Linked DNA regions of Homo sapiens: all the other regions are linked to region 1. Evidence: promoter capture Hi-C in human tissues and cell types (Jung and others, 2019). All regions are on one chromosome and are shown on one strand. Each heading gives the region's core, a stretch centred on a gene start or on the middle of the fragment in contact. The rest is flanking DNA. Distances are from core to core; before and after follow the strand shown.

Region 1 (2,700 bases), core at 16-2,515:
ACGGCTGGAGCTGGGGGCTGCAGACACCCGGCCTTGGCCCAGCGGCCGCCGCGGGTTGGCTTGGCCGGCGGGGGCTTGGCTCAGCCCCCTCTACATAGCTCCTCGTTTGACACCGCGTGCGTTGGCCGGGCCAAGGCTGTCGCATAGAAGTTACAGCTCAGAAAGAAAAACACACAGCGGTCAACCGCGGTGACCCTCGCGCTCAGGAGCGCAGCATCCCTGCCACGAGGAAGAACCCAGAGGCCCCGCAGAGCGGGGAGCCGCCGCCTGCCTCCAGTTCTGTCCTGAGAAGGGAAGAAAGCGCTTCTCTAATAACACTCAGGCCCGTGAAGAATCATCTGTAACCTCATCTGCTTCTTCCTCGGCTCACTTACGAGGGTCTCTGGGAGAGTCAGACCCACGAGTGGGGCCCACGACTGGCAGCCCCTTCAGCCGGCGAGAGGCCCGGGATCCGCGCGGCGCACGAGCCCAAAGCGGTCGGGAGAACACGCTCCAGGCCGGGTCCCCGTGGGCGAGGTGGGCGCCCAGTCCCGGCGGGTCTGTCTTGGCCTTGGGACAGTCCGCGGGGCGGCGCCGGCGCTCCCAGACCTGGTTCCCCACAGGCTCAGGCCCAGCAGTGAGTGCGGGACACCCGAGCGCACCCGCAGCTCCCACTTGTCCGGGGTCTGCAGGACCCCAGGATCCTCTCACAGCCGGGTCAGAGCCCCCGAGGCAGGTGGGGTCCCAGCCGGGTGGAACCCGAGGAGCCCGTCGCAGCCGCAGCAGGACCCCGGCGGGCAGGGTCCCCAGAAGCCCATCCCAGCCGGGTCCCAGGCGCGCACGCTGCGTCCTACCTGCTCCAGCCTCGCCGGCAGGCGAAGGCTCCACGGCCCCCGGGGCCACCTGCTCCCCGTGCCCAGGCGCCTGGGCCTGGAGCGGGGCGCGGGGACCCGAACCCGGCCGGCTGCAAGAGGCGGCACCACTTGAGCTCCAGGTCCCGCGGGCCCGGGCTTACCGTGAGCGCCGAGAACTTCTGAGCGGGCACCGGCGGGAGCAGCCCAGCGAGCAGCGGCAGCCAGCAGAGCTGGGGGAGCAGCATGGTGGCGGAGGTGGCGGGAGCGGGAGATCGGCCGCGTCCTGCGCCCTGGCACTGCAGCCGGGAGAGCCCAGTGGGCGAGCGCGGCTGGGCGGGCGCGTGGAGGGGCGGCTCCGCGATGCTCTCCCCACCGCTCCCGGCGGCCCGGCTGGAGCAGCTCCCCTGCAGGCACCCAGAGGTCCTCCGCGTTCTTTGCGTCCGCCCTCGCTCCTGTCAAATACCCCGGAGCTTCCCGGATCCTCCCCTCCCGCCCGCCTCTCTCCCTCCCCCTCTCCTCCCCCAGCCCCACCTCCCAGCGCCCGCTGCCGCGCCCGCTCCGCTCCGGTGCCCGCTGCGGCCCAGAGGCCTCCCTGGCGCGGGTCTGCGGAGCGAGAGGTGGAGCGGGGGCCACCAGGGCTGCGCAGTGGCCTGTCCGGGCTGTCTCTGTGCCTCCTTCCCCGCGCGCACTCTCACACACACACGTGCACACTTACACACACGCACACCCAGGCACACGCACGCACTCATACCCACGCGCGCGCACCCTCGGGGGGCTTCCAAGCACAACCACGGGACGCACCGCGCCCTCCTCACGCCCCAGGGTCCAGGCCCGGTCCGCGCAGGATCAGCCCAGCGGGACTTTTCATCCACAAAGGTTAACGCCAAGCCTTGGCCGGTCCCCAGACTCCGGGGTTCTCCTTGACCTCTGCCCTCTAAGGCCCCCTGGTCCAGCCCAGAACATTGCCTCTCAGAGGTGCTGAAGGATCAGCGGCGCTCCAGCAAAGGCAGCTGGGAACACATGTCCAGGAAAGGCTGCGCCGGGGGCAGCCCGCCTTTGGCATCTTTACACGGGGTTATCCACTGCAGGGATGGGGGAATTTAGGTCCTAAAGATCCGGGGTCTGACCTGGGCTGTAGCCTTGATCCTCTCAAGTCGGGGGAGCATGTGGTTGGGCATCATTCACAGACACATGTGGCTGTTTTTAAACAGCTCTGTCAAAGCATTTCAGGTGTTTGTGCGGGGAGCACAGGGCTTGTGGAGGTTGTAAACTCACCCACGAAGACTACGTTGGAAACCAGGAAATTTTTGCACACCCAGACTCTGGATAATATCCACTGCAGACAACATTGCTGACATAGTTTAGCCTTGGCTTATAACTTTACAGGAAAAAGCCCTAATTCTGTCTCACACAGAAAGCCAGAAGAGTGAAGATTTGTTCAAGAACAATGAATCAATTGACTTGTCAGGGGCATTGGGAAAAGCACAAAACACAGAAAATCCAAATCTGAGGTTTCATCCGATGTCTAGCCCACTGCTTTGGCTATGAACTTTGGGGGAGGGGGCTGTATCAGCAAGTTCTGGGACTGGCTGCTGAGGCAAAGGCAATGCTATTGCAACCTTTCCCACACAATTTTATCAGGAAAGTGATGTCCGTCGGGCCACGGAAAGACGGGAAAGAAATGCACCTTTTCCTGAAGGAGGGCTACTCTCAGAATTCTCCTTAAAATTCCAAAGCCCAGGGAATCTATTAAGCACTTAAACACATTCCTCCTGGTTTAAGGACTTAGAAGGAAATTATAATAAAACTCTTGAGGGACTGCTCCTGGGTCCAGAAAAACAGGTGAGCAGAGCAGCTGCAAATGATT
Region 2 (2,700 bases), core at 76-2,575, 350 kb before region 1:
AATGTTATATTGCTATTTAGTTGGTATATTAAACATAATTTTCTTTCACAAATTCCACGTGGCAAATCTCTTTATTTGGTGCCATCGTGCCTCTTAGTCCAACTCCTGTCCTTGACTCAATGGTGAACAACCACATTTTACTATTTTGACCAATAATTGCAATACAAAATCTTTATTTTATTGTCAGAAAAGTAAAAGTTTTGGCGTATCTTTGCACAATTGTACTTCTTAAAAGCTTTGTAAATGTGTACAAAGGACACTGTCTCCAGTGAACTGGCCACAAGAAATATCCATCAGAATAATGAGAACATGGTTTAGAATTCTCCCTAAAATACACCAAATATCACTTTTCAGAATGTTTGTACAGTATACTTTGAACAAATATCTTAGTGAATAGAAAATATAATAAAAGATCAGTATTCATAATACAGTAATAGTGAATTTTGTGTAAACCCAATGTCATAATTTTTTGAATGTGTGCTTACTGATACATTGCACAGATTTTAATGCTATAAAGGTGTAGATTTAATCCTCACCTGTGCCTGGAGGCCCTTCATTTTTCTGCAACACACACACACACACACATTCCTTCTCTGGATCCTTCTAGAAGGACCAAAGAGTGGCCCTGAGAGGGTTTACTGATAGGTCTGCCATGCTCTCTCGCTCCAGCCTCTGTTCCTTCCCAGACGTCCCACTGCTGTGTTGGCGGACGGTGCCAGATGCAGGAGAGTGCCCGGGCTGCCAGGCATGTTGTGGGCTCACCTTGCCTTGGTGACAGTGGCCCTGCGAACTCACCCTGACCATCATGAGGCTCCAGCTGGGGAATGTGTCCTCCCTGCAGCCCCACGCTGCCTCGTCACCAGTCCCCCAAAGTGGCTGCCAGTGCCCAGTCCTACTGCTTCTCTCCCGGAAGCAGTAATTCCTTGATAATTTCCGCTTAAACATGGCGTTCTCGTCCGTTCTCACACTGCTGTGAAGAAACACCTGAGGCTGGGTGATTTATAAAGAAATCAGGTTTAATTGGCTCACAGTTCCGCAGGCTGTACAGGAAGCATGGCGCTGGCCTATGCTCAGCTTCTGTGAGGCCTCAGGAAACTCTCAATCATGGTGGAAGGTGAAGGCGGAGCAGGTGTGTCTTACGTGGCAAAAGAAGGAGCAAGAAAAAGGTAGAGGAGGGGTGGGGGAGGTGCCACACACTTTTAAACAACCAGATCAGAATGATAACTCACTCACTCACCATCACGAGAACAGCACCAAGGCAGATGTTGCCGCCCCTTCGTGAGAACTTCTCCCCTTCTGCCTTCCTCTTTATAAAGATTCTAGTGGTCACTTCCCATCGCCCCCACCTCCAGCACTGGGTATTACAGATTGACATGAGATGGTGCTACCCTTTCATGAGAACTTCTCCCCAGGGTCCAGTCACCTCCCACCGGCCCCCACCTCCAGCACTGGGCATTACAGTTCAACATGAGATTGGGTGGGGACACAGATCCAAACCATATCACATGCTAAACTGAATACCCATATCTACCCATTCTTGCAGTATACACTAAAATCACAGTGACAGATAAACAAAAAGTCACTAATCTATAAGAACGAAGAGAAGACACAGAGTTGAAGAGGGCCCTGAGGCTCTCCTCTGCCCCTGGACTCAGGAAGGCTGAGGCCCCTCCTTGGAAGATGCACCCCTCAGTTTCCACACACACCCTCACCAGGCTCCTTACTTCTGGTTTGAGCACCCTGGGTTCTTGCCGTGGCAGGACCCATTTTTAGTATCAATTTCTGCATCAGTCAGGAAAATATGGGACAGGCTATGGTTGCAAAAAGCCCTGGAAATCATAGTGGCTCGAGGCAGTGAACGCGATTCCTCCTGGATGCCGTGTCATCGGGGCTGCTGCGGCCTCTGTCCTATGTCCCTGCACTCCAGGACTCGGCTGATGACAGTCCCACCTCAAATGTGGCCACAGGCTGCAAGCAAGGGCAGTGGCTCTTTCTCAGGAGCACTGTGTGGCAATTAAATGCCTCCATCTGGCGTTTGCAAGCTCCTCCTTTGCCCCTCGTGCAAGGGGCCATGTGGGAGGCTCAAGGCTGGAAATCTGGCAAAAAGTGGGAGGAGATCCTAGAGACCAACTTCAACAAACTATCAGGAGTCAGTTGGTGACAGATGGGAAAGTGAGAGAGTTACCTGAGAGGGGTAAGCTATGCGCTCAGAGGAGGAACAGCAATGAGAAGCTCACTAACTTAACCACAGCGTCTCTGGGAGGCTTGGAGCTTTTGCCACAGAAAAGAGAGGGTGTGTAAGGAGCAGGGTGGAGAAAGATTGCAGCGTAATTGCAGGGAGCATCAGCTGCCCCCGTGGCTCACCTTCACAGCTGAAACAGCCCCGCATGCACTTGTCACACCAGGCAGAAGGAGTGTGCATCCATCTCCCAGCGCTGCCTCACAAATCTCCACATGCGCCATGTCTGGAAGTCAGAAGTCCAGGTGAGTCTGGGGGACCACCATCAAGGTGTGGGCAGGGCTGCTTCCTCCTGGAGCTCCAGGACAGGGTCTCTTTCCCACCTTTCCAGCCAGCGGAGACTGCCGCGTTCCTCAGCTCCTGGCCCCTTCCTCCATCCTCAGCACAGCAATCGTACCGCGCTGGCCTCTGATTCCCTGGCTACGTCACTGACACGCCTGCCTTCCTCTTTATAAAGATTC
Region 3 (2,700 bases), core at 97-2,596, 270 kb after region 1:
GGTGGCCTGGGCCTCCCTTGCTACACCCCAGGGATTCTGCAGAAAAATCGCAGGCCATAAACACCCCCAAAACATGCGAGAATCACCAACACGCCATTCAACCCACGTGGAAAATCACCAACACGCCACTCAACCCACGTGGAAAATCACCAACACGCCACTCAACCCTCGTGGAAAATCACCAACACACCACTCATCCCACGTGGAATTCATTTTCCTGAGACAGAGTGGTTCATGGGGACAGAGGACACACACTGGCCCTGCCGAAGCTTTATTTTTAAGTCAGTGAATCTTAACGTTCACCTGAAGAAAACTTTACATTTACTTCATTAAAGCAGTTAAGCTTTTCCAAAATGAGGATCTTTTTCTTAGCACACATTTCCTCCACCGAGGCGAATATTTTGTAAGTGCACCACACTCTGCCCTCCTGTTCTTCTTCCTCCCAGGCTGTAATGCAAACATCCAGCAATCTCACCTGCTCACATTCATTGCTCAGTGTTGAAATGTGATAAAGCAAAGTGTGATTGTAACCACAGGAGTAATGTGGACCGGTGTCCTGAGAGCCAAGCTACAAAAGGCTACATCGACCTGGGGTGTAGGGAACTTTGCATGGAGAAGCGACATCTGTGCCAGACTTGGCTCTGGGAAGTCTCTGCTGGAACACCTTGCTCTGTAATGGGCAATGCCCCACGTGGATTCAGTTTCCCATTTCAGTCCTTGTCCTGTGCCGTATGCCTCAGTGGGTGACACAGCCACGCCCTAGCAGTGCAGGCTAAAGCCTGAGCATCAGCCTTGATGAGCGACACAGAAAGTCCCCCGCTTAATGACTGTATTCAGGAAGTCCCCCGCTTAATGACTGTATTCAGGAAGTCCCCCGCTTAATGACTGTGTTCAGGAAGTCCCCCGCTTAATGACTGTATTCAGGAAGTCCCCCGCTTAATGACTGTATTCAGGAAGTCCCCCGCTTAATGACTGTATTCAGGAAGTCCCCCGCTTAATGACTATTCAGGAAGTCCCCCGCTTAATGACTGTATTCAGGAAGTCCCCCGCTTAATGACTGTATTCAGGAAGTCCCCCGCTTAATGACTGTATTCAGGAAGTCCCCCGCTTAATGACTGTGTTCAGGAAGTCCCCCGCTTAATGACTGTATTCAGGAAGTCCCCCGCTTAATGACTGTATTCAGGAAGTCCCCCGCTTAATGACTGTATTCAGGAAGTCCCCCGCTTAATGACTATTCAGGAAGTCCCCCGCTTAATGACTGTATTCAGGAAGTCCCCCGCTTAATGACTGTATTCAGGAAGTCCCTCGCTTAATGACTGTATTCAGCGCTTTCTATGAGCAACCCTTATACAAGCTTTGCAGATACAAAAGCTAAGAATATCGACAAAATCATCGTCTTTGTGGAGCTTACATTCTCTCACCCCCGTGACTCGTCAATCCCCAGGTCCTCTGGACTTCACTTCCTAGGCCTCCCTCAAATCTGCCCCCACTCTCCAGCTCCAGGGCCACGCTGCAGCCACCGCAGCAGCTCCCCAGGCCTCAAGGTCCCAGCTGAACCCTCTCAAATCCATTTCCCATGTTGTAGGAAGAGTAAACTTTCTGTACAGAGGCTTGTTCATGTCCCCCCAATGCCTTCTCAATGAAAATCAGCCCTTCAGTGAACCCCCCTGGGTCCCCTGAGGCTGGTCTCCTGCCTACAGCTCTGGTGGCACGTCCTGCCCCTGGCTGTCCCGCCCCTTGCTGCTGGCTGCTTCACTGGCCTCATCTCTGTTCCTCAGATGCTCTGTCCCTTCCCACCCCAGGATGACCCAGCCCAGCCCATCCTCCTGCACCCCCGCATAGCAACCTCCTATCCCTCACACACAGCCCCTGTCACCCCTGGAGGGAGGCTGCCCCTGTTACTCATCCTCTATGTACTGAGCTTTGACAATTTGTCTAGAATGTCTCCTCCCATTAGACTGCACAACCACAGCAGCCAGGACATCACCATTGCTTCCCTGGGGCTCAGCCTCGGGTTCCCTGGAAGAGCTCCATTAATATGTGGGTTATCGTTCTGTTCCTACAATTGTTGGACTGATCATCACCCCCCTCGTCGCTGCCTTTAGAAGCCATGCAAGAGAGAATGGATACGCTAATGTGACTCCATCTGGGACCTGAATGGCCCACCTGACAGGTGGAGGCTGGGTGGAATGTCCCTGGAAATGCTTTCTAACTCACTTCCAGAGCACTCACCCCAGCACACTCACCTCCCCTGCACCTGCCCCCAGCGCACCGCATGTATCTCATCCTGATTCTGATTCCCGCTGGCTCGGCTACTCTATGACCCTCTGTCCTGGGATATCCTAGCTGAGTTTAAGGAGAAAGGTCTCTGTGAGGTGGCCTCTCCCTTCCTCTCCACAAGGCTGGACAATTCATTTGGCTGTTTTATTAAAATGGTGATATGGTTTGGCTCTGTGTCCCCACACAAATCTCATCTTGAATTGTAATCACCATGTGTCAAGGGAGGGGCCTGGGGGTGGTGATTGGATCATGTGGGCGGTTTTTCCCTTTCTTTTCTCATGATAGTGAGGGAGTTCTCATGAGATCTGGTTGTTTCATAAGTGTCTGGCATTTCCCCTGCACACTCTCTCTCCTGCCACCTTGTGAAGAGGTGCTTTCTGCCATGATTGTAAGTTTCCTGAGGCCTCCCCAGCCATTCAG
Region 4 (2,700 bases), core at 83-2,582, 370 kb before region 1:
TCCCAGATGGTGAAGGCATTCTAAGTCACAGGATGAAATAAGAGGTCAGCACAAAATACAGACCACAAAGACCTTGCTGATAAAACAGGTTGCAGTAAAGGAGCCGGCCAAAACCCACCAAATCCAAAATGGCAACAAGAGTGACCTCTGGCTGTCCTCACTGCTACACTCCCACCAGCGCCATGACAGTTTACAAGTACCATGACAATGTCAGGAAGTTACCCTAATGGTTTAAAAAGAGGAGATAGGAATAATCCACCCCTTGTTTAGCATATCATCAAGAAATAGCCATAAAAATGGGCAACCAGCAGCTCTTGGGGCTGCTCTGTCTATGGAGTAGCCATTCTTTTATTCCTTTACTTTCTTCATAAACTTGCTTTATTATTATTATTATTATTATTATTATTATTATTATTATAATACTTTAAGTTCCAGGATACATGTGCAGAACGTGCAGGTTTGTTACATAGGTATACACGTGCCATGGTGGTTTGCTGACCCATCAACCCGTCATCTACATTAGGTATTTCTCCTAATGCTCTCCCTCCCCTAGCTCCCCACCCTGTGACAGGCCCCAGTGTGTGATGTTCCCCTCCTTGTGTCCATGTGTTCTCATTGTTCAACTCCCGTTTATGAGTGAGAACATGCGGTGTTTGGTTTTTTGTTCCTGTGTTAGTTTGCTGAGAATGATGGTTTCCAGCTTCATCCATGTCTCTGCAAAGGACATGAACTCATCCTTTTTTACTCTGCACTGTGGACTCACCCTGAATTCCTTCTTGTGTGAGATCCAAGAACCCTCTCCTGGGGTCTGGATCAGGACCCCAGAACTTTAATTTGGGGCTACATTCATTTTTCCTCCCTCCTTAGCCCATTTGTGGTAGTCAAAAGCTGGTAAAGAAATGTTACCAATTTCAATATTCCATTAAAAACAACATGCCCAGAACATAGTCAATATTTCACAGGAACTTGCAGCTCCCTGGGAAATCTCTATATTCAGTGTGGGGCTGTTACACTTGACTCTTAGCTCAGTTGGGGGTGTCTGGGGTTGAGAGGACAGAATGGAGAACCTAAAAGCATTACCAAAGCAATAGAAATAGACTTCAGTTGGGGCAAACTGAGAGCAGAAATTTAAACTGACCAGAAATTTAAAGGGAAATCCTGGATACGTATGAACATAGGAGAGCTGGGTGCCTGCAAGGCCGAGCATGTCTGCCAGACTGCGGGCACTCCTAGGACAGCTCTGGGGAGGAAGAAGGCAGGAGCCCCTCACCCCTGGCTGACCTCGAGGCCCTGTGCAAGCAGAAGGTAAAAGCAAAGGCTGTCTCATAAACTGCCTGACAATGGAAGGCAAAGCCTTCTCGCAGAGATGGCCCAAATGTACATGGAAGTCATGCCAGAAAACTGACCCATCGTTGATTGATCACTAAATTACACTGGCCTAGATATAAATCTTAGAAAGCCAAGCTTAAAAATGAAATGAAAAGCTTTAACAAAAGGCTGGGAGCTCAGTGTCCACATGCTGTAGGCACGGATGTCCAACCCTTTGAATATAAGGACTTGTTTGCTTATTTGCGGTGGTGGATATCATGAAAATCATGCACAAACCATTTTTTTTAAGCTCATCAGCTATGGCTAGTATTCGTGTATTTTATGTGTGGCTCAGGGAAGCCCAAAGGTTAGACACCCGTGGCAGGGGTTAGAGCTCTGCAAAAGTAGTCAGGCCAAGTCACTAAACAGACAACTAGCCACAAAGGAAATGAAAACAAATCTAACAACACAGCAAAACTCTGCAACAGCAAGAAACATTTGGGTGTGTGTAGAGAAATCTGATACTAGAATCGCCTCAATATATTATTATCTGAAATGTTCAGTTTTCAATAAAATTTACAAGATATGTAAATAAACAGGAGTATGCCACACACAGAGGATAAAAAGCAGCCAACAGAAAATGTTTCTAAATGCACCCAGATTTTAGACTAAATAGGCACAGGCTTTACAGCAGTTATTATAAATATGTACGAGCACCAAAAGAAACTCTGTCTAAAGAATTTTTAAAAGATTACAATGATATATTTCCAAAAAGAGAACATTAATAAATAGAAACTGTTTTAAAAGAATCAAATAGAAGTTCTGGAGTGAGTTGAAAACTGTGATAGGTGAAATAAAACATCCCTAGAGGGTCTTAACAACAGATCTGAGTCAGTAGAAGAAAAAACTGGAGAACTTGCATTTAAGTCAACACGTAGTATCTCATTTTAGGAGCAGAAAGAAGAAAAGAATGAAGGAAAAATAACAGACACTCAGACACCCGCAGAAAAACATGAATAGAATATACTTGACAGTCCAGAAATAAATCCTCGTATTTATGACGATTTTCAACAAGGGGGCCAAGAAAATTCAATGAGCAAAGAATTGTCTTTTCTAACAAATAGTGCTGGGAAAATTCGACTACTAATGTGAAAGAATGAAGGGATATCCCTACCTCATCATGCATCAAAAAGTAGCCAAGAATGGATAATAGACCTAAATGTAAGCACTGAAGCTGGAAAAACTCACAGGAGAAAACACATGGGTAAACCTTCATAATCTGGAGTTAGATAATGGTTTCTTAGGTACAGCACTGAAGCACAGTGACAATAAATAGATAATTTGGATTTTACTAAAATTTAGAAACTTTGTGCTTCAAGGGACACCATCAAA
Region 5 (2,700 bases), core at 144-2,643, 420 kb before region 1:
TATGTACAAGTTCAACACCTAAACAGCCCACTGGGGTTCACCAACCACAGCGCCCAGGGAGGCACAGGACCTGGAGTGGGGACTGGGAATTGTGGTCTCTGAAACACACACAGGCATTACACACTCCGCCATACGTGCAGGCCTGGGGTTCAGCTCACAGGCTTGATGGAGTGGGTGTTTTTAAACCCCTTAGCAATTCCAAAGTAAGTGTTATTTTACTTTATAGAATCCTGGGTTCTGGAACAATTCATTTTCCCTAATGATGAATGGACTGATTCATTTCTGCATTTGTTAATATCTAAAGTGATTTCTTTTTCTAGATAACGTTCCCTAAAACCTCCCAAAGATCACGTGACTAAGGCCAAGTAAAACTACAGCGAAGAGGTGGAGAGACATCTGAATTAAGATCCCTTCAGAGAATCAATGCAAATTAAAAGTTAGCAAATCACCCAAAGAGAGAGCGGCCTGTGGGGAAATCTAACAGTGTTCTTTACATTTCAGATCCCATTTTTGATCCAAGCTAAAATACAAGTCACCCCAAATTAATTGCAGCAAACATATTGTGGTGGCAAATTAAGTCTTCTTAGTCATTTATATCTTGGAGATATTCTGCACACGGGCCGACACACGAAGAAGCGTTTCGTGTCCCTCCTGGCCTTGGTGATTTCTTTTCAGAAAAGCACCGGGGGGCCAATCAACTGTCAAATTACGTTTCCCTGTGCTGGGCTTATCCAAGAGCAATCTCCTGTTGACTTTATTGCACATTTTATAATTGTATAATTTCACAAGTCTTCCATGGATATCGTCATTACAATAATTTAGGGCTATGGAAACTCAGGGATCACAGGCAGTTCCTCCCATGGGTCACCACGGTTACTTAAGACCATGACCGACCTGCCAGCCCTGGTCATTCAGACTTGGGAACTAGAACTGGCAGACATTTCTCAAAAATGAGGGAGTCTGTCATTTCAAGGATGACGGCTGACAGTTTTTGTTGCCTATGATAAAAATTCAAGCATCACTATGAAAGTGACAATCCCAAAGACCTTGTGTCTCCCTCTGTGAGCCTGTCACTGGCTTAAAGGGTGTTTTGAGGACATCTGTGGGGAGGTCAACAGAAATGCTTTTTATATTGTGTAGTGAGAAGTGTCAACATTTGGAAGATCTGCAGAACTCAGTGAGCTGATTGTTTCCACTGCGGGATGGTATAAAGTGACGAGCAAGCGAAGACCATCTGCGGTGCCACGGGCCCATGGATGCCGACACAGGGGCAGGTGCATGCCCAGGCAATAGGGCTCAGATCCCACACAACAGCGCACCTTTAAGAAGCTACCACCTTTGGGGCTTGGGGGTGGTATCAAAGAATCACCACAATTACCTAGGAAAGGTTATTAAAATAATCTCCTCTTTCCTAATACATTTGGGAGTGACACTGAGTATTCACTGCACACTTCAAACCCACACAGATGGAGTGCGGGAGTGGCCTCAGACTCTGGCTGCCTTCCGGGAAGTCAGACACTGGATTTGCAATAGAAAGTATAGCACTCTTGTCAGTCAAGATGGTTTGGTTCAAAAATTACATTTATTTTTCATTACACGTTATTTATGTTGGCATGTAATGGATTTACTATTGTGCTTTTAATTAAAGAATAAAAACATTTTAAGTTTTTTTAGTTTAATTTCTAGTAGGATAAATAACAATAGACAGAACCCACTTCATCAATCCGTCTAATTTTCCTGCCAGAGTAATAATGTATTCCTAACTTTGTTCATTTCTTGCTTTTAAAATGTAGACCTTGAAAAGACTAAATACATAGAAATGTAGACGTTGCCTGGAGTTTTTATTTTCAATATCAGGTTACATTTCATTTTGTATTTAAGTATACAAAATGAATATCAAATAATGCATTTTCAAGCAAATGTATAGATGAGTGAATTTTGTCTGGGGCCAGAGGGCTATGACGCAGAGCTCTGTAACTGACCACCTGCAGTGACCTCGCCTGCTCCTGGGCGGGCTTCAGTCTTGTGTGACCCTCACGCCCACGGTGAAAATCCCCGAAATGGGGTTCTATTTGCTGGAAGATTTCTTCTTTAATTGCATTATGTTATTTTTACATCTAGCTGCTCTTACCCTGAGAAATTGTTCATATTCTGTGTTCCATTTCAGTTTTTCATAAAGTAACCTAAAAAACTGACCACTTGGAAAATGAAACACATAGTTGTAAGATTAATAGATCCTTCTGCCCTCGAGTCCCCTCCCGAGGACCCAGTCAATCCTGAGCCCTGAATCACAAACAAACAAAAAGGGCGGTGTATCTTGTGCATTTTCTGTCTCCTTTTTCTCGCTTGTTTTCAATTTTTCTTTGGATTTGTTAGTGTATCAGAGGTTTATAAAAGCATGGGTGTGGACTCTGAAGGAATTTCACTTATCTTTCAAAAGATGTGAAAACAAATTCTATTTTCCTGGTACAGATTTGCTTCGAAGTACCTCTTTAACCTACCTTTCTTCACAGACAGCGCAAGGGAACATTAATGAATAAAACTTGCCTTTATATTTTTAACAATCTTTTCTAGGCAACATATTTTTGGAATTTATCAGTCCCCGTACGCCTAGAATACCTGACCCCTTTCTTCGGATGTGGTTGCGGCGGGACAAGAACCAAGGTGGTCTTTGCTGTGGACTGAGCTCAAAGCACACGT

The links. The method cuts DNA at HindIII sites, captures the fragments that hold promoters and counts their contacts. A contact is called where the count stands out against the background at its distance.
Region 2: a contact is called between a fragment that was not itself captured here and the fragment with the promoter of SMOC2 in region 1, in 3 of the 25 tissues and cell types used here (bladder, dorsolateral prefrontal cortex and mesendoderm cells).
Region 3: a fragment that was not itself captured here is called in contact with the fragment with the promoter of SMOC2 in region 1 in 1 of the 25 tissues and cell types used here (H1 embryonic stem cells).
Region 4: a contact is called between a fragment that was not itself captured here and the fragment with the promoter of SMOC2 in region 1, in 3 of the 25 tissues and cell types used here (H1 embryonic stem cells, aorta and heart right ventricle).
Region 5: a contact is called between a fragment that was not itself captured here and the fragment with the promoter of SMOC2 in region 1, in 2 of the 25 tissues and cell types used here (H1 embryonic stem cells and dorsolateral prefrontal cortex).

What each region holds. Positions count from the first base shown.
Region 1 is chr6:168,439,749-168,442,448 of GRCh38, reverse strand. It overlaps SMOC2 (SPARC related modular calcium binding 2), which reads right to left and starts at 1,265. Exons shown (of 13, transcript NM_001166412.2): 1 at 995-1,265. The coding sequence starts at 1,078. The HindIII fragment of the contact is 15,076 bases long and covers 1-2,700 here.
Region 2 is chr6:168,789,232-168,791,931 of GRCh38, reverse strand. No RefSeq gene overlaps it. Among named protein-coding and RNA genes, the nearest start is that of SMOC2, 350 kb to the right of the region's middle. The HindIII fragment of the contact is 7,957 bases long and covers 1-2,700 here.
Region 3 is chr6:168,167,181-168,169,880 of GRCh38, reverse strand. No RefSeq gene overlaps it. Among named protein-coding and RNA genes, the nearest start is that of FRMD1, 89 kb to the right of the region's middle. RefSeq lists an enhancer at 393-1,592. The HindIII fragment of the contact is 3,232 bases long and covers 1-2,700 here.
Region 4 is chr6:168,807,007-168,809,706 of GRCh38, reverse strand. No RefSeq gene overlaps it. Among named protein-coding and RNA genes, the nearest start is that of LINC01615, 350 kb to the left of the region's middle. The HindIII fragment of the contact is 4,095 bases long and covers 1-2,700 here.
Region 5 is chr6:168,861,330-168,864,029 of GRCh38, reverse strand. It overlaps LOC105378144 (a long non-coding RNA gene), which reads right to left. Exons shown (of 2, transcript XR_943297.2): 2 at 1,564-2,700. Among named protein-coding and RNA genes, the nearest start is that of LINC01615, 300 kb to the left of the region's middle. The HindIII fragment of the contact is 6,663 bases long and covers 1-2,700 here.